Regions from separate parts of the Homo sapiens genome. Here region 2 is linked to region 1. The links are contacts of gene promoters, found by promoter capture Hi-C in human tissues and cell types (Jung and others, 2019). All regions are on one chromosome and are shown on one strand. The core of a region is centred on a gene start or on the middle of the fragment in contact, and the rest is flanking DNA. Distances in the headings are between cores, read along the strand shown.

Evidence for each region. The method cuts DNA at HindIII sites, captures the fragments that hold promoters and counts their contacts. A contact is called where the count stands out against the background at its distance.
Region 2: a contact is called between a fragment that was not itself captured here and the fragment with the promoter of IFT57 in region 1, in 2 of the 25 tissues and cell types used here (dorsolateral prefrontal cortex and hippocampus).

Annotation. Positions count from the first base shown.
Region 1 is chr3:108,219,304-108,225,163 of GRCh38, reverse strand. IFT57 (intraflagellar transport 57) reads left to right here and starts at 2,740. Exons shown (of 11, transcript NM_018010.4): 1 at 2,740-3,053; 2 at 5,592-5,754. The coding sequence starts at 2,842. It overlaps LOC124909405 (a long non-coding RNA gene), which reads right to left and starts at 2,559. Exons shown (of 2, transcript XR_007095999.1): 1 at 2,478-2,559; 2 at 680-2,218. RefSeq lists a silencer at 2,533-2,826 and an enhancer at 2,762-3,021. The HindIII fragment of the contact is 10,407 bases long and covers 1,602-5,860 here.
Region 2 is chr3:107,793,987-107,799,846 of GRCh38, reverse strand. BBX (BBX high mobility group box domain containing) reads right to left here. Exons shown (of 18, transcript NM_001142568.3): 16 at 1,127-1,324. Among named protein-coding and RNA genes, the nearest start is that of LINC00635, 81 kb to the left of the region's middle. The HindIII fragment of the contact is 3,574 bases long and covers 386-3,959 here.

The DNA.
Region 1 (5,860 bases), core at 1,491-3,990:
ACGGGGGTTTCACCATGTTGGCCAGGCTGGTTTCGAACTCCTGACCTCAAATGATCCGCCTGCCTCAGCCTCCCAAAGTGCTGGGATTACAGGCATGAGCTACCGTGCCCGGCCTGGAATGCTATTTAGTTTTCAGAGTTTCACAGAAAGATCCACGAGTTTTAAAAAGCTGAGGCAGGGGAACCGCTTAAATCCAGGAGGCGGAGGTTGCAGTGAGCCAATATCGTGCCATTACACTCCAGCCTGGTGACAGGGCAAGACTCCGTCTCAAAAAAAAAAAAAAAAAAAGTTACTTTCAATTACCTCACAGATAGTTTGAAAGAAATAAAAGTCAAAGTCAGAAGGCCAGCTATTAATAGTGGCGAATACAGTAAAACCAGGGATGAAATTGAGATTTTACAGGAAGAATGAACATGGCTCATTCTCTTCAAGCTCTAACTCCTTAGTCAACAAATAAACTAGTCCTGCAAACCAAAACAACAAAAAAAAACCTGATACAACTGTATTCCCCAAAGTTTCCAAGTGGCTGAAACAGCTAGAAGAGGATTTGAGTGCATTTTCACACACACGAAGAAAACTATCAAGGAAAAGATCTTTTGATGTGTTACAAACTATTACAGGTAAACAAGGAATCAGCAAAAATAATCCCTGGGCTTTACAAAACAATGAAATTTCAGTGTTCTTTCTAAAACTTTTTATTGGGGAAACATGCAGTATTGAACAGTTAGCTTTTTTGTTCTCTTTGTGCCACAATTACTGGAAATACTTTATATTTTTGGGTTTTTTTCTTCTTCACAATTAAGGGGGGAAATTATTCTGTATACTGCTTTCAGGCCAGGCTGTGTCAGTATTTTACCTGGGAAGGAAATGGCTAAGACCCTGGGAGTCGTTTTGTTTCCCCCAAGTTAAAATACATACGTTGCTGGAGGATTTATCAGCTAAAAAGCAACGTTTGACTATTTCATACTGTGTTACGTAACTTCCTGAAAATGTCAGAACATCTTAAGTAGGCAGCATGCCTGGCAGGAACATCTCCCTCCCTGAGTGTAATAAATTTACTTCCAAAGTCTGAGAGCTTTTTCAGAGTCATGTAAAAAGCCCCAGTTTGCTTGTTAGTTAACTTAGGACCCCAAAACATATCTAAGCTTTCATTTTTCAGTCTTATAAAGCCATACATCTATCTTACACTACTGTGACTGTTATACATACATATAACACCCCCAAGCTGCACATGTGGTGGTGGTTGGGGTATGGACTTATCGGGGAGAATCACTGTTTCAAAAAGGCAAAGACCAGGAAAGATCAATTTGGTAGTGGGGTAACATCAAATCCAATTTTCTCACTCAACTTTATTAAAAGCAGCTGGCTCATGACTTGTGGTAGGCAAGCAATGTTATTTATTTAAAAAGCAATTCTCAGTGGGCTGCCCTTCAGGTTATTCTCTACATAAGTCTGTAATTTTATGTACTTCCTTTCTTTAATGAAAAAATGGTATTTGCCCTTCTGACTTTTCACTTTGATAACCTTATTAGTATCAGAAACAAGTTAGCTGTAGACGGATTACAATGAAAAGTGTTCTCATTTTTTCTAATAAAAACAGGATATTGTAGATACATTTCAAATTTCAGTTGTCCAAAAATGTAGCCCTTCTATATTTTGTAGTGGCAGATACAAGAGATCAGAGAGCCCTTAAAAGTCACGTTATAAACATGAACATATGTTCAATCTCTTGTACTAAGTTTTCTTCCCAAAAACTGCCAGGCATCCACCACTTACCTCATTTTTTGCAACTGTTAAGAAAATTGCCTAATACAGAAGCCTTTTGAAAACTGTAAAGCTGGGCCATTTCTGTGGTCAGTTATGTACCTTTTCTTAAATTTTCTAGGTCAATAACTGCAGAATACAGTAGTAACACCCTATCTTTAGCCACCCTTAGAGCTTTAGGGCAGGGAAATTCCTTTTAAGACCATCTCTATTCTGTTGGATTTAACGAAGTACCCAAACACTTTATACTACATGTAATGGGTTTGAAACAGATTAAGCAGCAGGATGGAAGCTTAGTATTCTTGTTTTTGAAGTAAAACAAATCCTTCCAAATGCCTCCTTTTGTTCATTGTCTTCCTCATCCTTCCAACCACTTTCCTAGCACTGGAGTAACAGCCAGGCAACGTAATACAGTACTTCAAGCTTTACAATATACTGTTAAGTGCAGCATTGCCTAGTGAGAGAAAGATAAAATTAAAGAAAGAACGAGAGAAACCTCTCGTTGGAAAGTTCCTGCAGTAAAAGTGAAACCTATGGTATTGACTATCTTTACAACTATGAAAAACTTTTCAATTCTGAGAAAATAAAGGTATCAGTGAGCCAGTGCAGCCTTCAGTGCTACACGTCTTCACCTCCCTTTAATCTTTTTAACAGCTACTAGCTGACCCAGATGCCCGCTTAATTGCTTTTAGCAACCACCAGGTCCAACACACCTCAAGCCAGCTCAAGACTCACTAGGCAAGCGGAGCAGAAACGTAAGCCGGCTCCCTTCAGACTTTCAGCGAGGGAGAAGACGCAGCCGGCAGTGGGGCGCGAACGCCACGCCTCCATGAGGGGCGGGGCTGCTTCCCGACCACCATTTCCACAGAGGCAGGGCAAGAAGAGGGCCACAGGTGACGTCATTCAGGAAAGCCGCCCTGATTGGAGGGAAGGAGGCGGAGTCTAGTTTCCCTGGTGACGGATTGTCCGGTGGTCGCCTGGTAACCGGTCGTGGCTGTACTGGCGGCGGCAGGGCTGGCGGCTTAGGCCGCAGAGGTCTGTGGGCCTGAGCCCACGCTGGACTCTGTCCGTTCTGCGATGACTGCTGCTCTGGCCGTCGTCACGACGTCGGGTTTGGAAGATGGGGTGCCTAGGTCCCGTGGCGAAGGGACCGGGGAAGTGGTCTTGGAGCGGGGGCCCGGCGCGGCCTACCACATGTTCGTGGTGATGGAGGACTTGGTGGAGAAGCTGAAGCTGCTCCGCTACGAGGAGGAGTTCCTCCGGAAGAGCAACCTGAAGGCCCCGTCCAGGTGGGTGCCGGCGTCCCCGAGCGCCCGGGTGCCTGCTAGCCCCCAGGGAGATGCCCTCCTTGGTCCTGCTGGGAACCAGTTTCGTGAGAGCGGGTTAGCAATTCCTTGCCTCCGTCTTCCTAGCCAGGGAAGGGCACTTCACCCCAAACTCCCGGGAGGTCCGTGGAGCTCACGCAGCCCTGACTTGGTATTTTTGTAGAGAGAATAAATAAGTTTTGGAACGGCAGAAAGGATCGGAAGACAGCTTGCCTGTTTTTTTCCAACACACACGCATTACCAGAAAACACAAACTATATTTTCTGATTGTAAAGATGAAACAAATACTCATTGAAGAAAACTCAGAAAAACACAAGTAAATGTCTAGAAAAATTATAAGACCGTCCAAAATTCGCCTCCAGAGAGGAATGCCATTATCACTTAAGGCTTTTTTTCTAGTTTGGGGTTTTTTGTTGTTGTTTAAGACCCTGTTCATACAACTGGGGACCGTGGGTACTTAGGATCCTGTTAAGGAGCACTTTAAATGCGGTTAGTAAACTTGTTAACTACTTGCTATGGTTTAAAAGACTTCTGCCTTTGTAATAACCATACTCTCAGAAACTGAAAAGTGGAAAAGACGAATGACAACTATTGAATTGTCCCCCTATCATAGAACCTAAAGTTTTACCCTTGTTCCGGTGGGGGAAAAGTCCAACATATCCTGAAAGCAATGCCATTACTTGCTGAGGGTAGTGGTCAGCTAGGACCTTCTCCTCAAATCACTGTAGCTTAGCAGTAGCCAGATAAATCAGTTTTATAGCTTTTCTTTCACTTTAATACTTACATTTGTATATTTTATTCCATAAAAGGCAATCAGTATTAAGAATCTATAGTACTTAATGTCTACAGCCAGGCTCAAATAATTTCCCTTGATAGTTTTAATCTCATTCCACTGCTGTCTTCCAATAACTTGAATTGAAAGATATGTAGGCTTGATATAAACTGTTCATATTAAATTAGTCCATGGTCGGAGAAAAGATAAAGGAAAAAGTAGTGTTGCTTGATCCATGTTAGAAAAGGTAGTCCTGGGATTATTACTTAAAGTGAATTGATCAGGATAATATAGACAACCAACATTTCCTATGTTAATAAAAATGCATTTTTTTCCAAGTATATTTTTAAAATGAAAACAAAATGTCCTTAAGGTTCTGTTGATGTCATCTCTTGCACTGTGTCCTCAGGGGTTCAGCAGGATACTTTGAATCATGGATTTGTGTGGGGATATCCTAGTCCAATGGTTCTCAAAATGTGATCACCAGACCAACAGCATCAGCATCACCTGGGAACTTACTAGAAATGAAATTCCTCAGGCCCTTTCCCAGGTCTACCTTTTCAGTAATTATAGGGATGGGGCCTAGCATCTGTTTCAGTAAGCCTTCCAGATGATTCTGATGGACACTAATGTTTGGGAACCACTGTCCTAGGTTTACAGTATCTATTGGTGTTCATTCCTCTGCCCTAGAAGAGTTATCTGCCGATAAGGAAAAGATGACTTTTTGGTGGGTGGGTGCTTTGAAAGGATAGTGAGCATATACCTGGAAGGACTTCATGGCCTTTTTTCTTCCCAGCTTTCTGTTATCTTCCAGAACATTTACATTTATCCTGCAGGAAAAAGTTTGGGAAACATGAAGGAGTACACGACAGATTTTTATGACAATGGTTATAATAGTTGTAAATACATTGTAAACATAATAATGATAGCTACACATGAACAAGACAAATAAGATCTTTGATTAAACTGACTTGAATGTTGTTGCTAGTGAGTTTTATTCCTATAATGTTTAGGTATAAATCATACTGATCCTCGTAGAACTGTGTTTAGTAGACTAGGGGATTAAGCAAGAGCCCACAGATGTTTGACTGGTGATGTGACATTCACAGGTTCTTAATCCTGACTACACCTTATAAACATGTAGAAATCTTTTGAAATATACCCCATACTGGGCCTACTTTCACTGAAGTTCTGATTTAATTCATTCATGAGGGAAGAAGCAATGTTTGGTCAAGTACCAGTATTTTTATTAGCTCCTCAGGTGATTGAATATGCAGCCAACATAGAAACAAATGTTCACCATAGGTGATAGGTTAGAAACAGTAAAAATGCATAATGAGTAATCGTTGAGGTCTTTTTTAAACTCTGAGGTTCTTCCAGATTACCATTTTCATTCATAAGGTACTTACATATTATTACTGACACTTAAATCATTTTGGCAAAAATTCTACATGCTCTGTGCTCTAACATGCACTACATTTCCTGGGTGTAAGGTCTTTGATCTAATATTTTGGGTACAGTAGTAATTGCCCTAATCCTGCTGATTTAAAAACTTCAATGTGAGTGCTGTGGATTACTGGAAACTTCAAAGGGTGAATTATCGAGGTCTTTTGATGGCCATTTGGGGGGAAGAAAGATTGTTGGACAATTGTGAATTCGGCCCTATTAGTTATTATAGACTTATTTGCATTATTTCACATCCGCCCCCATTCCTCCTTGTTTTGAAACAGACACTATTTTGCACTGCCTACCAACCCTGGCGAACAGTTCTACATGTTTTGTACTCTTGCTGCTTGGTTGATTAATAAAGCGGGACGTCCCTTTGAGCAGCCTCAAGAATATGATGACCCTAATGCAACAATATCTAACATACTATCCGAGCTTCGGTCATTTGTAAGTGTAAACGACCCTTCTTTTTCCTTGTTCTCAAGTTATGAATTTTAATACTGGTAATTTAATAACAAATGCTAGCCATTTAGATGACTCCTCTGTAAATATG
Region 2 (5,860 bases), core at 923-3,422, 420 kb after region 1:
CCCTTACCTTGGGCTCCTCCGGTCATTCTACTGCCAAAGAGGCTACCAGGAACAGCAAACAGACAACAGGCCATGATTGAAAATGGAGAAATTCACCAGTTGGTGAATTAAATCAGATAACTCAAGAAATCCAGAAGCATTCTCAGGCTCCCTGCATGGTCTAAACCAGTTATATAGGAAGTGAATGTTGGATGCATTTTAAGCTTAATCTACTGGTTTGAATGCCTGGTAATCTGGCTTGTAGTGACCCGAACAGCAGACCATGGTCAAATACTGATTCATCTAGTATCTTTAAAAGTATAGGATCTCCTGGAATTAAGATTGCTTTTGTGCACATTGAGAAAGATAAAGGGAAGATGACAGTCCTAAAAACTACCTTTCTTTTCTAGGAATTCAGATATGCTCTTGGAAAACTAGCTATGATTTTAAACATGGAATAAAACATGTTTGGAGGTCTGTAGAAAGCTGCAGAATAGACTCATTTTTCAGTAGGAACCACAGTTGCTTACAGTCATTTGCTGACATGGTGGTCATCTGCTTGCTCTGGTTATCTCTGTCTAAAGCAAGCTTGTCCAACCCATGGCCTGCAGGCTGCATGTGGCTGGGGACAGCTTTGAATGCAGCCCAACACAAATTCGTAAACTTTCTTAAAACATTCTGAGATTTTTTTGTGTTTGTTGTTGTTGTTTTTTTTTTTGAGACAGAGTCTCACTCTGTCGCCCAGGCTGGAGTGCAGTGGCGCGATCTCGGCTCACTGCAACCTCCGACTCTCGGGTTCACGCCATTCTCCTGCCTCAGCCTCCCAAGCAGCTGGGACTACAGGCACCCACCACCAGGCCCGGCTAATTTTTTGTATTTTTAGTAGAGATGGGGTTTCACAGTGTTAGCCAGGATGGTCTCGATCTCCTGACCTCATGATCCACCCACCTCAGCCTCCTAAAGCGTTGGGATTACAGACGTGAGCCACCGCGCCTGGCCTGGTTTTTTTTGTTTTTGTTTTTTTTTTTTTTTAGCTCATTGGCTATTGTTAGTGTATTTCATTGTGGCTCAAGACAATTCTTCTTCCAGTGTGGCCCAGGGAAGCTAAAAGATTGGACACCTCTGGTCTAAAGCTCTCTCTTCTTACCCAAAGTACCTCCTGCTGGTGATACCCGGCCATCTGCTGTCCTGACAAGGTGTGTAATCTTGGTTTTCCTTGCTTTTCTCTTTTGGCTGCCCACCAAAGGTTCTTGCGTTGTTGTTGGCTCTGGAGTGTTGAAAATGGATGGGATATTTTTAACCTTATGAACAGGCTCCATGGTGTTTCTGTCTTCTGAAAATATGGCTGAAATAGGAAATACCATGCATAGTTATGCACAAAAACAGAAGGCACCAAAATTGCTCTTAGAAGGAAACATGTCTAAATTTCTGACCCGTCTGAATGGAGAATTTACACTCAGAGTTTTCAAAGTACTGATGGAAAAAATGAAATAAAACGTTGCCCCTAACTTGTTTACTACCAATTGATATTTGCTTTGATAAATTAAATGCAGTGAATTAAGACACCCCCTCTTTTTTACATTTTCTAAGTCTCTGGGTGTTGCACGTTGGTGGGGACGATAATTTAGGTAAATCTGAGTAAATTATGTCCTCTTGTAAATTATGTCCTAGTTGTGATCAGGGTCCCTATCTGAGAGATCCTTTTGGCCAGTTGGCCTAGAGAGGATGGTAAAAGAAATTTCTTCAGAGGACACTAAAATTAAATATGTCCTTCTTAAATTTATATTTATGGTTGGGACATTTGCTTTTAAGCACCAGGTTGAATTGATCAGAAAAGAAATTGAGGCCTGACTTTCTTTCATGTAGATTGACTGTGCAGTAAGGACAGGACAAACATTGTTGAAGCCAGCACGCCAAGGAAAGAAACTCTCTTTCATTCACTGAATTCTAAAACAAGGAATACACTTAGTGAGATAATTTAATGAAGTCCCACATGTCATCCTGGCTTGTGGAGAGGCTAGTTTTAGGTATCCTAATTGTAACCCCAATGAATCATTTGATAGCACACTCCTATATTCTGAGTCACTCTGTCAAGAGCAAGGAAGACACCTGTACCACAGACTTTTCTCCTGGTTTACACAGATTGGGGAAGCTTGTGTCTTTTCTTACATACTCATTTTCTTAGCAGTTTACCCCCTCCTGACCTTAACTTAAAAGTAAGACAAGATGTGTAGATATGAGTTTAGTAAGTGTTTAGGGGTATACCATAGTTGAGTTTTATGATTGGGACTTTAAAGAAATTCCAGTGACCCAAGGGCTTTTAAGCCGGGAAAAGATGCACTTTCATAATTTTTAACTATCCAATTTCTTAGGATAGACATAGAAATTATTTTTGACAAAGAAAAGGAGAATGTGGGTCAGAAAACTAATGTCAGACATAACAAGCCCTAAGCAAACTAAATCCAGAGGAGGCATATCTGAAGGTAGATATTGGCAATAAAGCTATATATATATATATATATATATATATTTGGAAGAAAAGCTAAACTAAGAGGAAAAAAAAACTAGAGCAAGAATAACTCAGGGTGTGAAAAAATGAACTTGTTGGTATAAACACTTGCACAGCCCTCATTTAAAATGTTTAATCTAGGTGTTTAATGGATTTAGGTACATCCTCAAGAAAGAAGGCTATGAATTAATAAGATTATTTGTCCTGGAAATCATGGCACCTTGTCTTTAAAAGATGTTTCAAAAGAAAGGCTGATTCCAGGCTTCACATTCCTAAACAAGTGGGAAATAATTTCAATTACATCAAAAGAAAGTATGTAAAGCAGAAATCACACCATCATTTGTGGTTTGGCCTTACCTCAATATTGCATAACAGATGGCTGTGTGCAGACAGGCTTAAGATAACAGTTGTTTTAAAAAACTACTTGGCAATGCTCCCAAACACCTTTTCAAGTAAGTAATCAAAGGTCAGAAAACATACTCCTTTTAGATTGCAGATCTATTCCCAGGTCAAATAGATCTACCTCAATGGTGGATTAATTTACTCAGTTATTATACTTAGTCTTAGAATATTTATACTTTGATATTTAGCTTAACATAGGCCAGTGGTGGTACATATTTTAAGTTTTTTTTTTTTAGTTTAAACTTCAATAAAAGCTTCCAGCAAAATAAAAAATAATTCGGTAAGAAACACTCCAAAGAAGATGCATGATTCTATTTTAGCCTTAAAATTCAAAGCCTCCTTTAAGTATAAAGAAGCCCAAAATCTGAATTTACAATGAGCATTAAATAACATCTATTGCACATTCATAAGCTTCGAGATTTCGAATTTCTTATCCAGATCCATCAGCTGTCCCTTCTGATTACAGGAGTCTTGTTTACCTCTCCAATAGAATCACCACATTGTGGATGGACATTCCAGAAAGAACATTAACCTCTTCCCTTTTCTACTTCCCCTTCCCAGGAAAGTACAGAACATGTAGAAATAAGGGTATATAGTGGGGTTCCAAAGATGGAAAGGTGTATCATATCTTACATTAGAACTGACTGCGGAAAGAAGAACCAAGGAGGTCAATGAAAAGGCATGGATACCAGAAAAAGGCCAAGTCGGTTGGGAAAGATGACTTGCTTTTTACACAGAGACCATGGGGTAATGGAAGTAACAGTCACAGAGAGACCAGAATTCTACTACTGACTTTTAAATTTACTAACAGCAGTCCAACCAACCATGGGCCTCTGTTTCTTCATTCAGAGATGGAGGTTGGACTGTATTAGCTTTAAAGGAGCCATCTAGCCCTAAAATAACTTTGCTACATAGGCTACCATCAGAGATCTGGCCAGGGGCAACAACAACAACAAACCACCAGTCAGCTCCAGAGTCATAGGCTGGGAAACAGTACTCCTGTGACTAGCACTGTTTTTGTTTGTTTGGTGAGCCTTCAAATGGTTTCATTTCTACTTAATAGTTGTTCCTTTTCTAGTTTGTTCCAGATGAATTGGTAAAAACACAGTAAGAAGCGTAAGGCACAGCTGCAAAAGGGTTGATTGCAAATGGAGGTACAGTTTCTGCCTAAAACCAGACTGTGACTATGGAAAGCTCAGAAACCAGCAGGCAAAGAGCCTGAGGGCCCAAAGCAGGCCAGCAATACCCAAGTCCCAAGGGTCAGTATATTGGAGGAAAGTAAAGGAGTGAATCAGACTGCAGACCAAGTGGAAGAGGCAAAAAAAAAAAAAAAAAAAAAAAAAGACTACGTCGGAGGTTCTCATAAGTTCCCCAAAAGAAGGTAATGCCAATTAACCAGAGGTCTCCTCTAAACCTACTATTACATCAAAATGCAATGATGGGCCCTGCAGATGATGCACATTTGCAAAAGGTATGTAATGTGACCTTCCTAGAGTTTGAAAGAGGATAAGGGTCCAGACTAATGTTCTGACCCAAGGGTTAACCCCAGAACGTATGGTCTTGTTTGGTGGTTTAGACTGAGGACAGCCTTCAGGATCAGCCCTCAGGGAGACCCTTCCCCTAAGACAGAAGAATTAGGGAAGGCAGATGGGACTGTATCCGAGAAGTAATTTTCTGGAACAAAACAGTAGATCTGAGTCCAACGACATTGGCAAAGCAGACAAAAGCTTGGTGGTGAGGGACATGAGATGAAAAAAGTTCAGAGAGGGAAACAAGCACAAAAGTTGAGTACAAAGATAGCAAGCTAGTTCCTCCCGACAACCCGCAACCTAATGGAAATGTAAGAAAAGAAAGGCTTTGTGGCTCCAAAACAAATTAGTCATTTCTTTTCCAGCTTTTAATTGAGCACACAAAACTACCCGAACACTTCAGAACAAATCCACTGGGCTAGTTTTTACACCCAAACAATAACCATAACACACTTGGTGCGTATCATCTGAGAGTGATGATGCAAGCTCACTCCTGGAGCCACATCAGGAATGTAGCAATAAGAGACCGTCTTGTTTTCCAAAATCTGATCCCAAAATGTGGAGTAGGTTTTTTGGGAAAGCAGCATTGCTCTTGTATTGTACCCCATGAGGCCACTAGAGTGCTCCAGAGTCATGAATTCACATTCCAACTGGGGTTTCAAACTTGCACTGAAATTATTATAGCCAGATCTGGAATCTAATTGCCTTTGGTAGGTCTCCCATGAGCTGAAACAGCAGTCAGATGCTGAATAGAACACAGGAAAAAGAAACGAATGAGCCTTATCCAACATCCTGGGAGACTTTGCTGAAGTTATATAGCAACTATTTCAAACTTAAGAAAAGAGATCGAGTTAGATTGGGCACTGTGGATCGTGTGTGAAAATCTAACTATAAACCAGAATTTTCCTGCCTGTAATTAGATTTATACACTGCAAAGAAGTGAATTTTAACAGAGATTCCTAGTCCTAGGTTTTGGGGTTTTTTTTTTCCCCGTTGTGAAATACCATTTATATTTTCAATATTTGAACCAAATGAGGGTTAAAAGTCTACAAATATGAAAAACGGAAAATGTAGTAGCTGATGTACTTAAATGGAGATATGGTTTCTTCCCTATCTGCTTGTGTTGCTCAGGCCATAATTCCTTACCATGTATTCGGGGCTGATAAACCCTCCTTAATTCACTGGGAATGCTGTTAAGATGAAATTGAAAAAAATATATACATATATATGAAAGCCCCCTGTAAACTATAAAGTGGTAGTAAGTATTAGTTATCATCATCATTATTATTGCAATTAGAAACTTCTAGCTTAAAGCATGAGCATATGGCACCATAACTAGGTGGAAAGATAAACACAGTGGCAGAGGTAGGAGGTAGTGTTCTTGGTTTATTTGAAAATCCTACCTTTAATTCTAGCCTGTGGACAATTTTTTTTAATACAT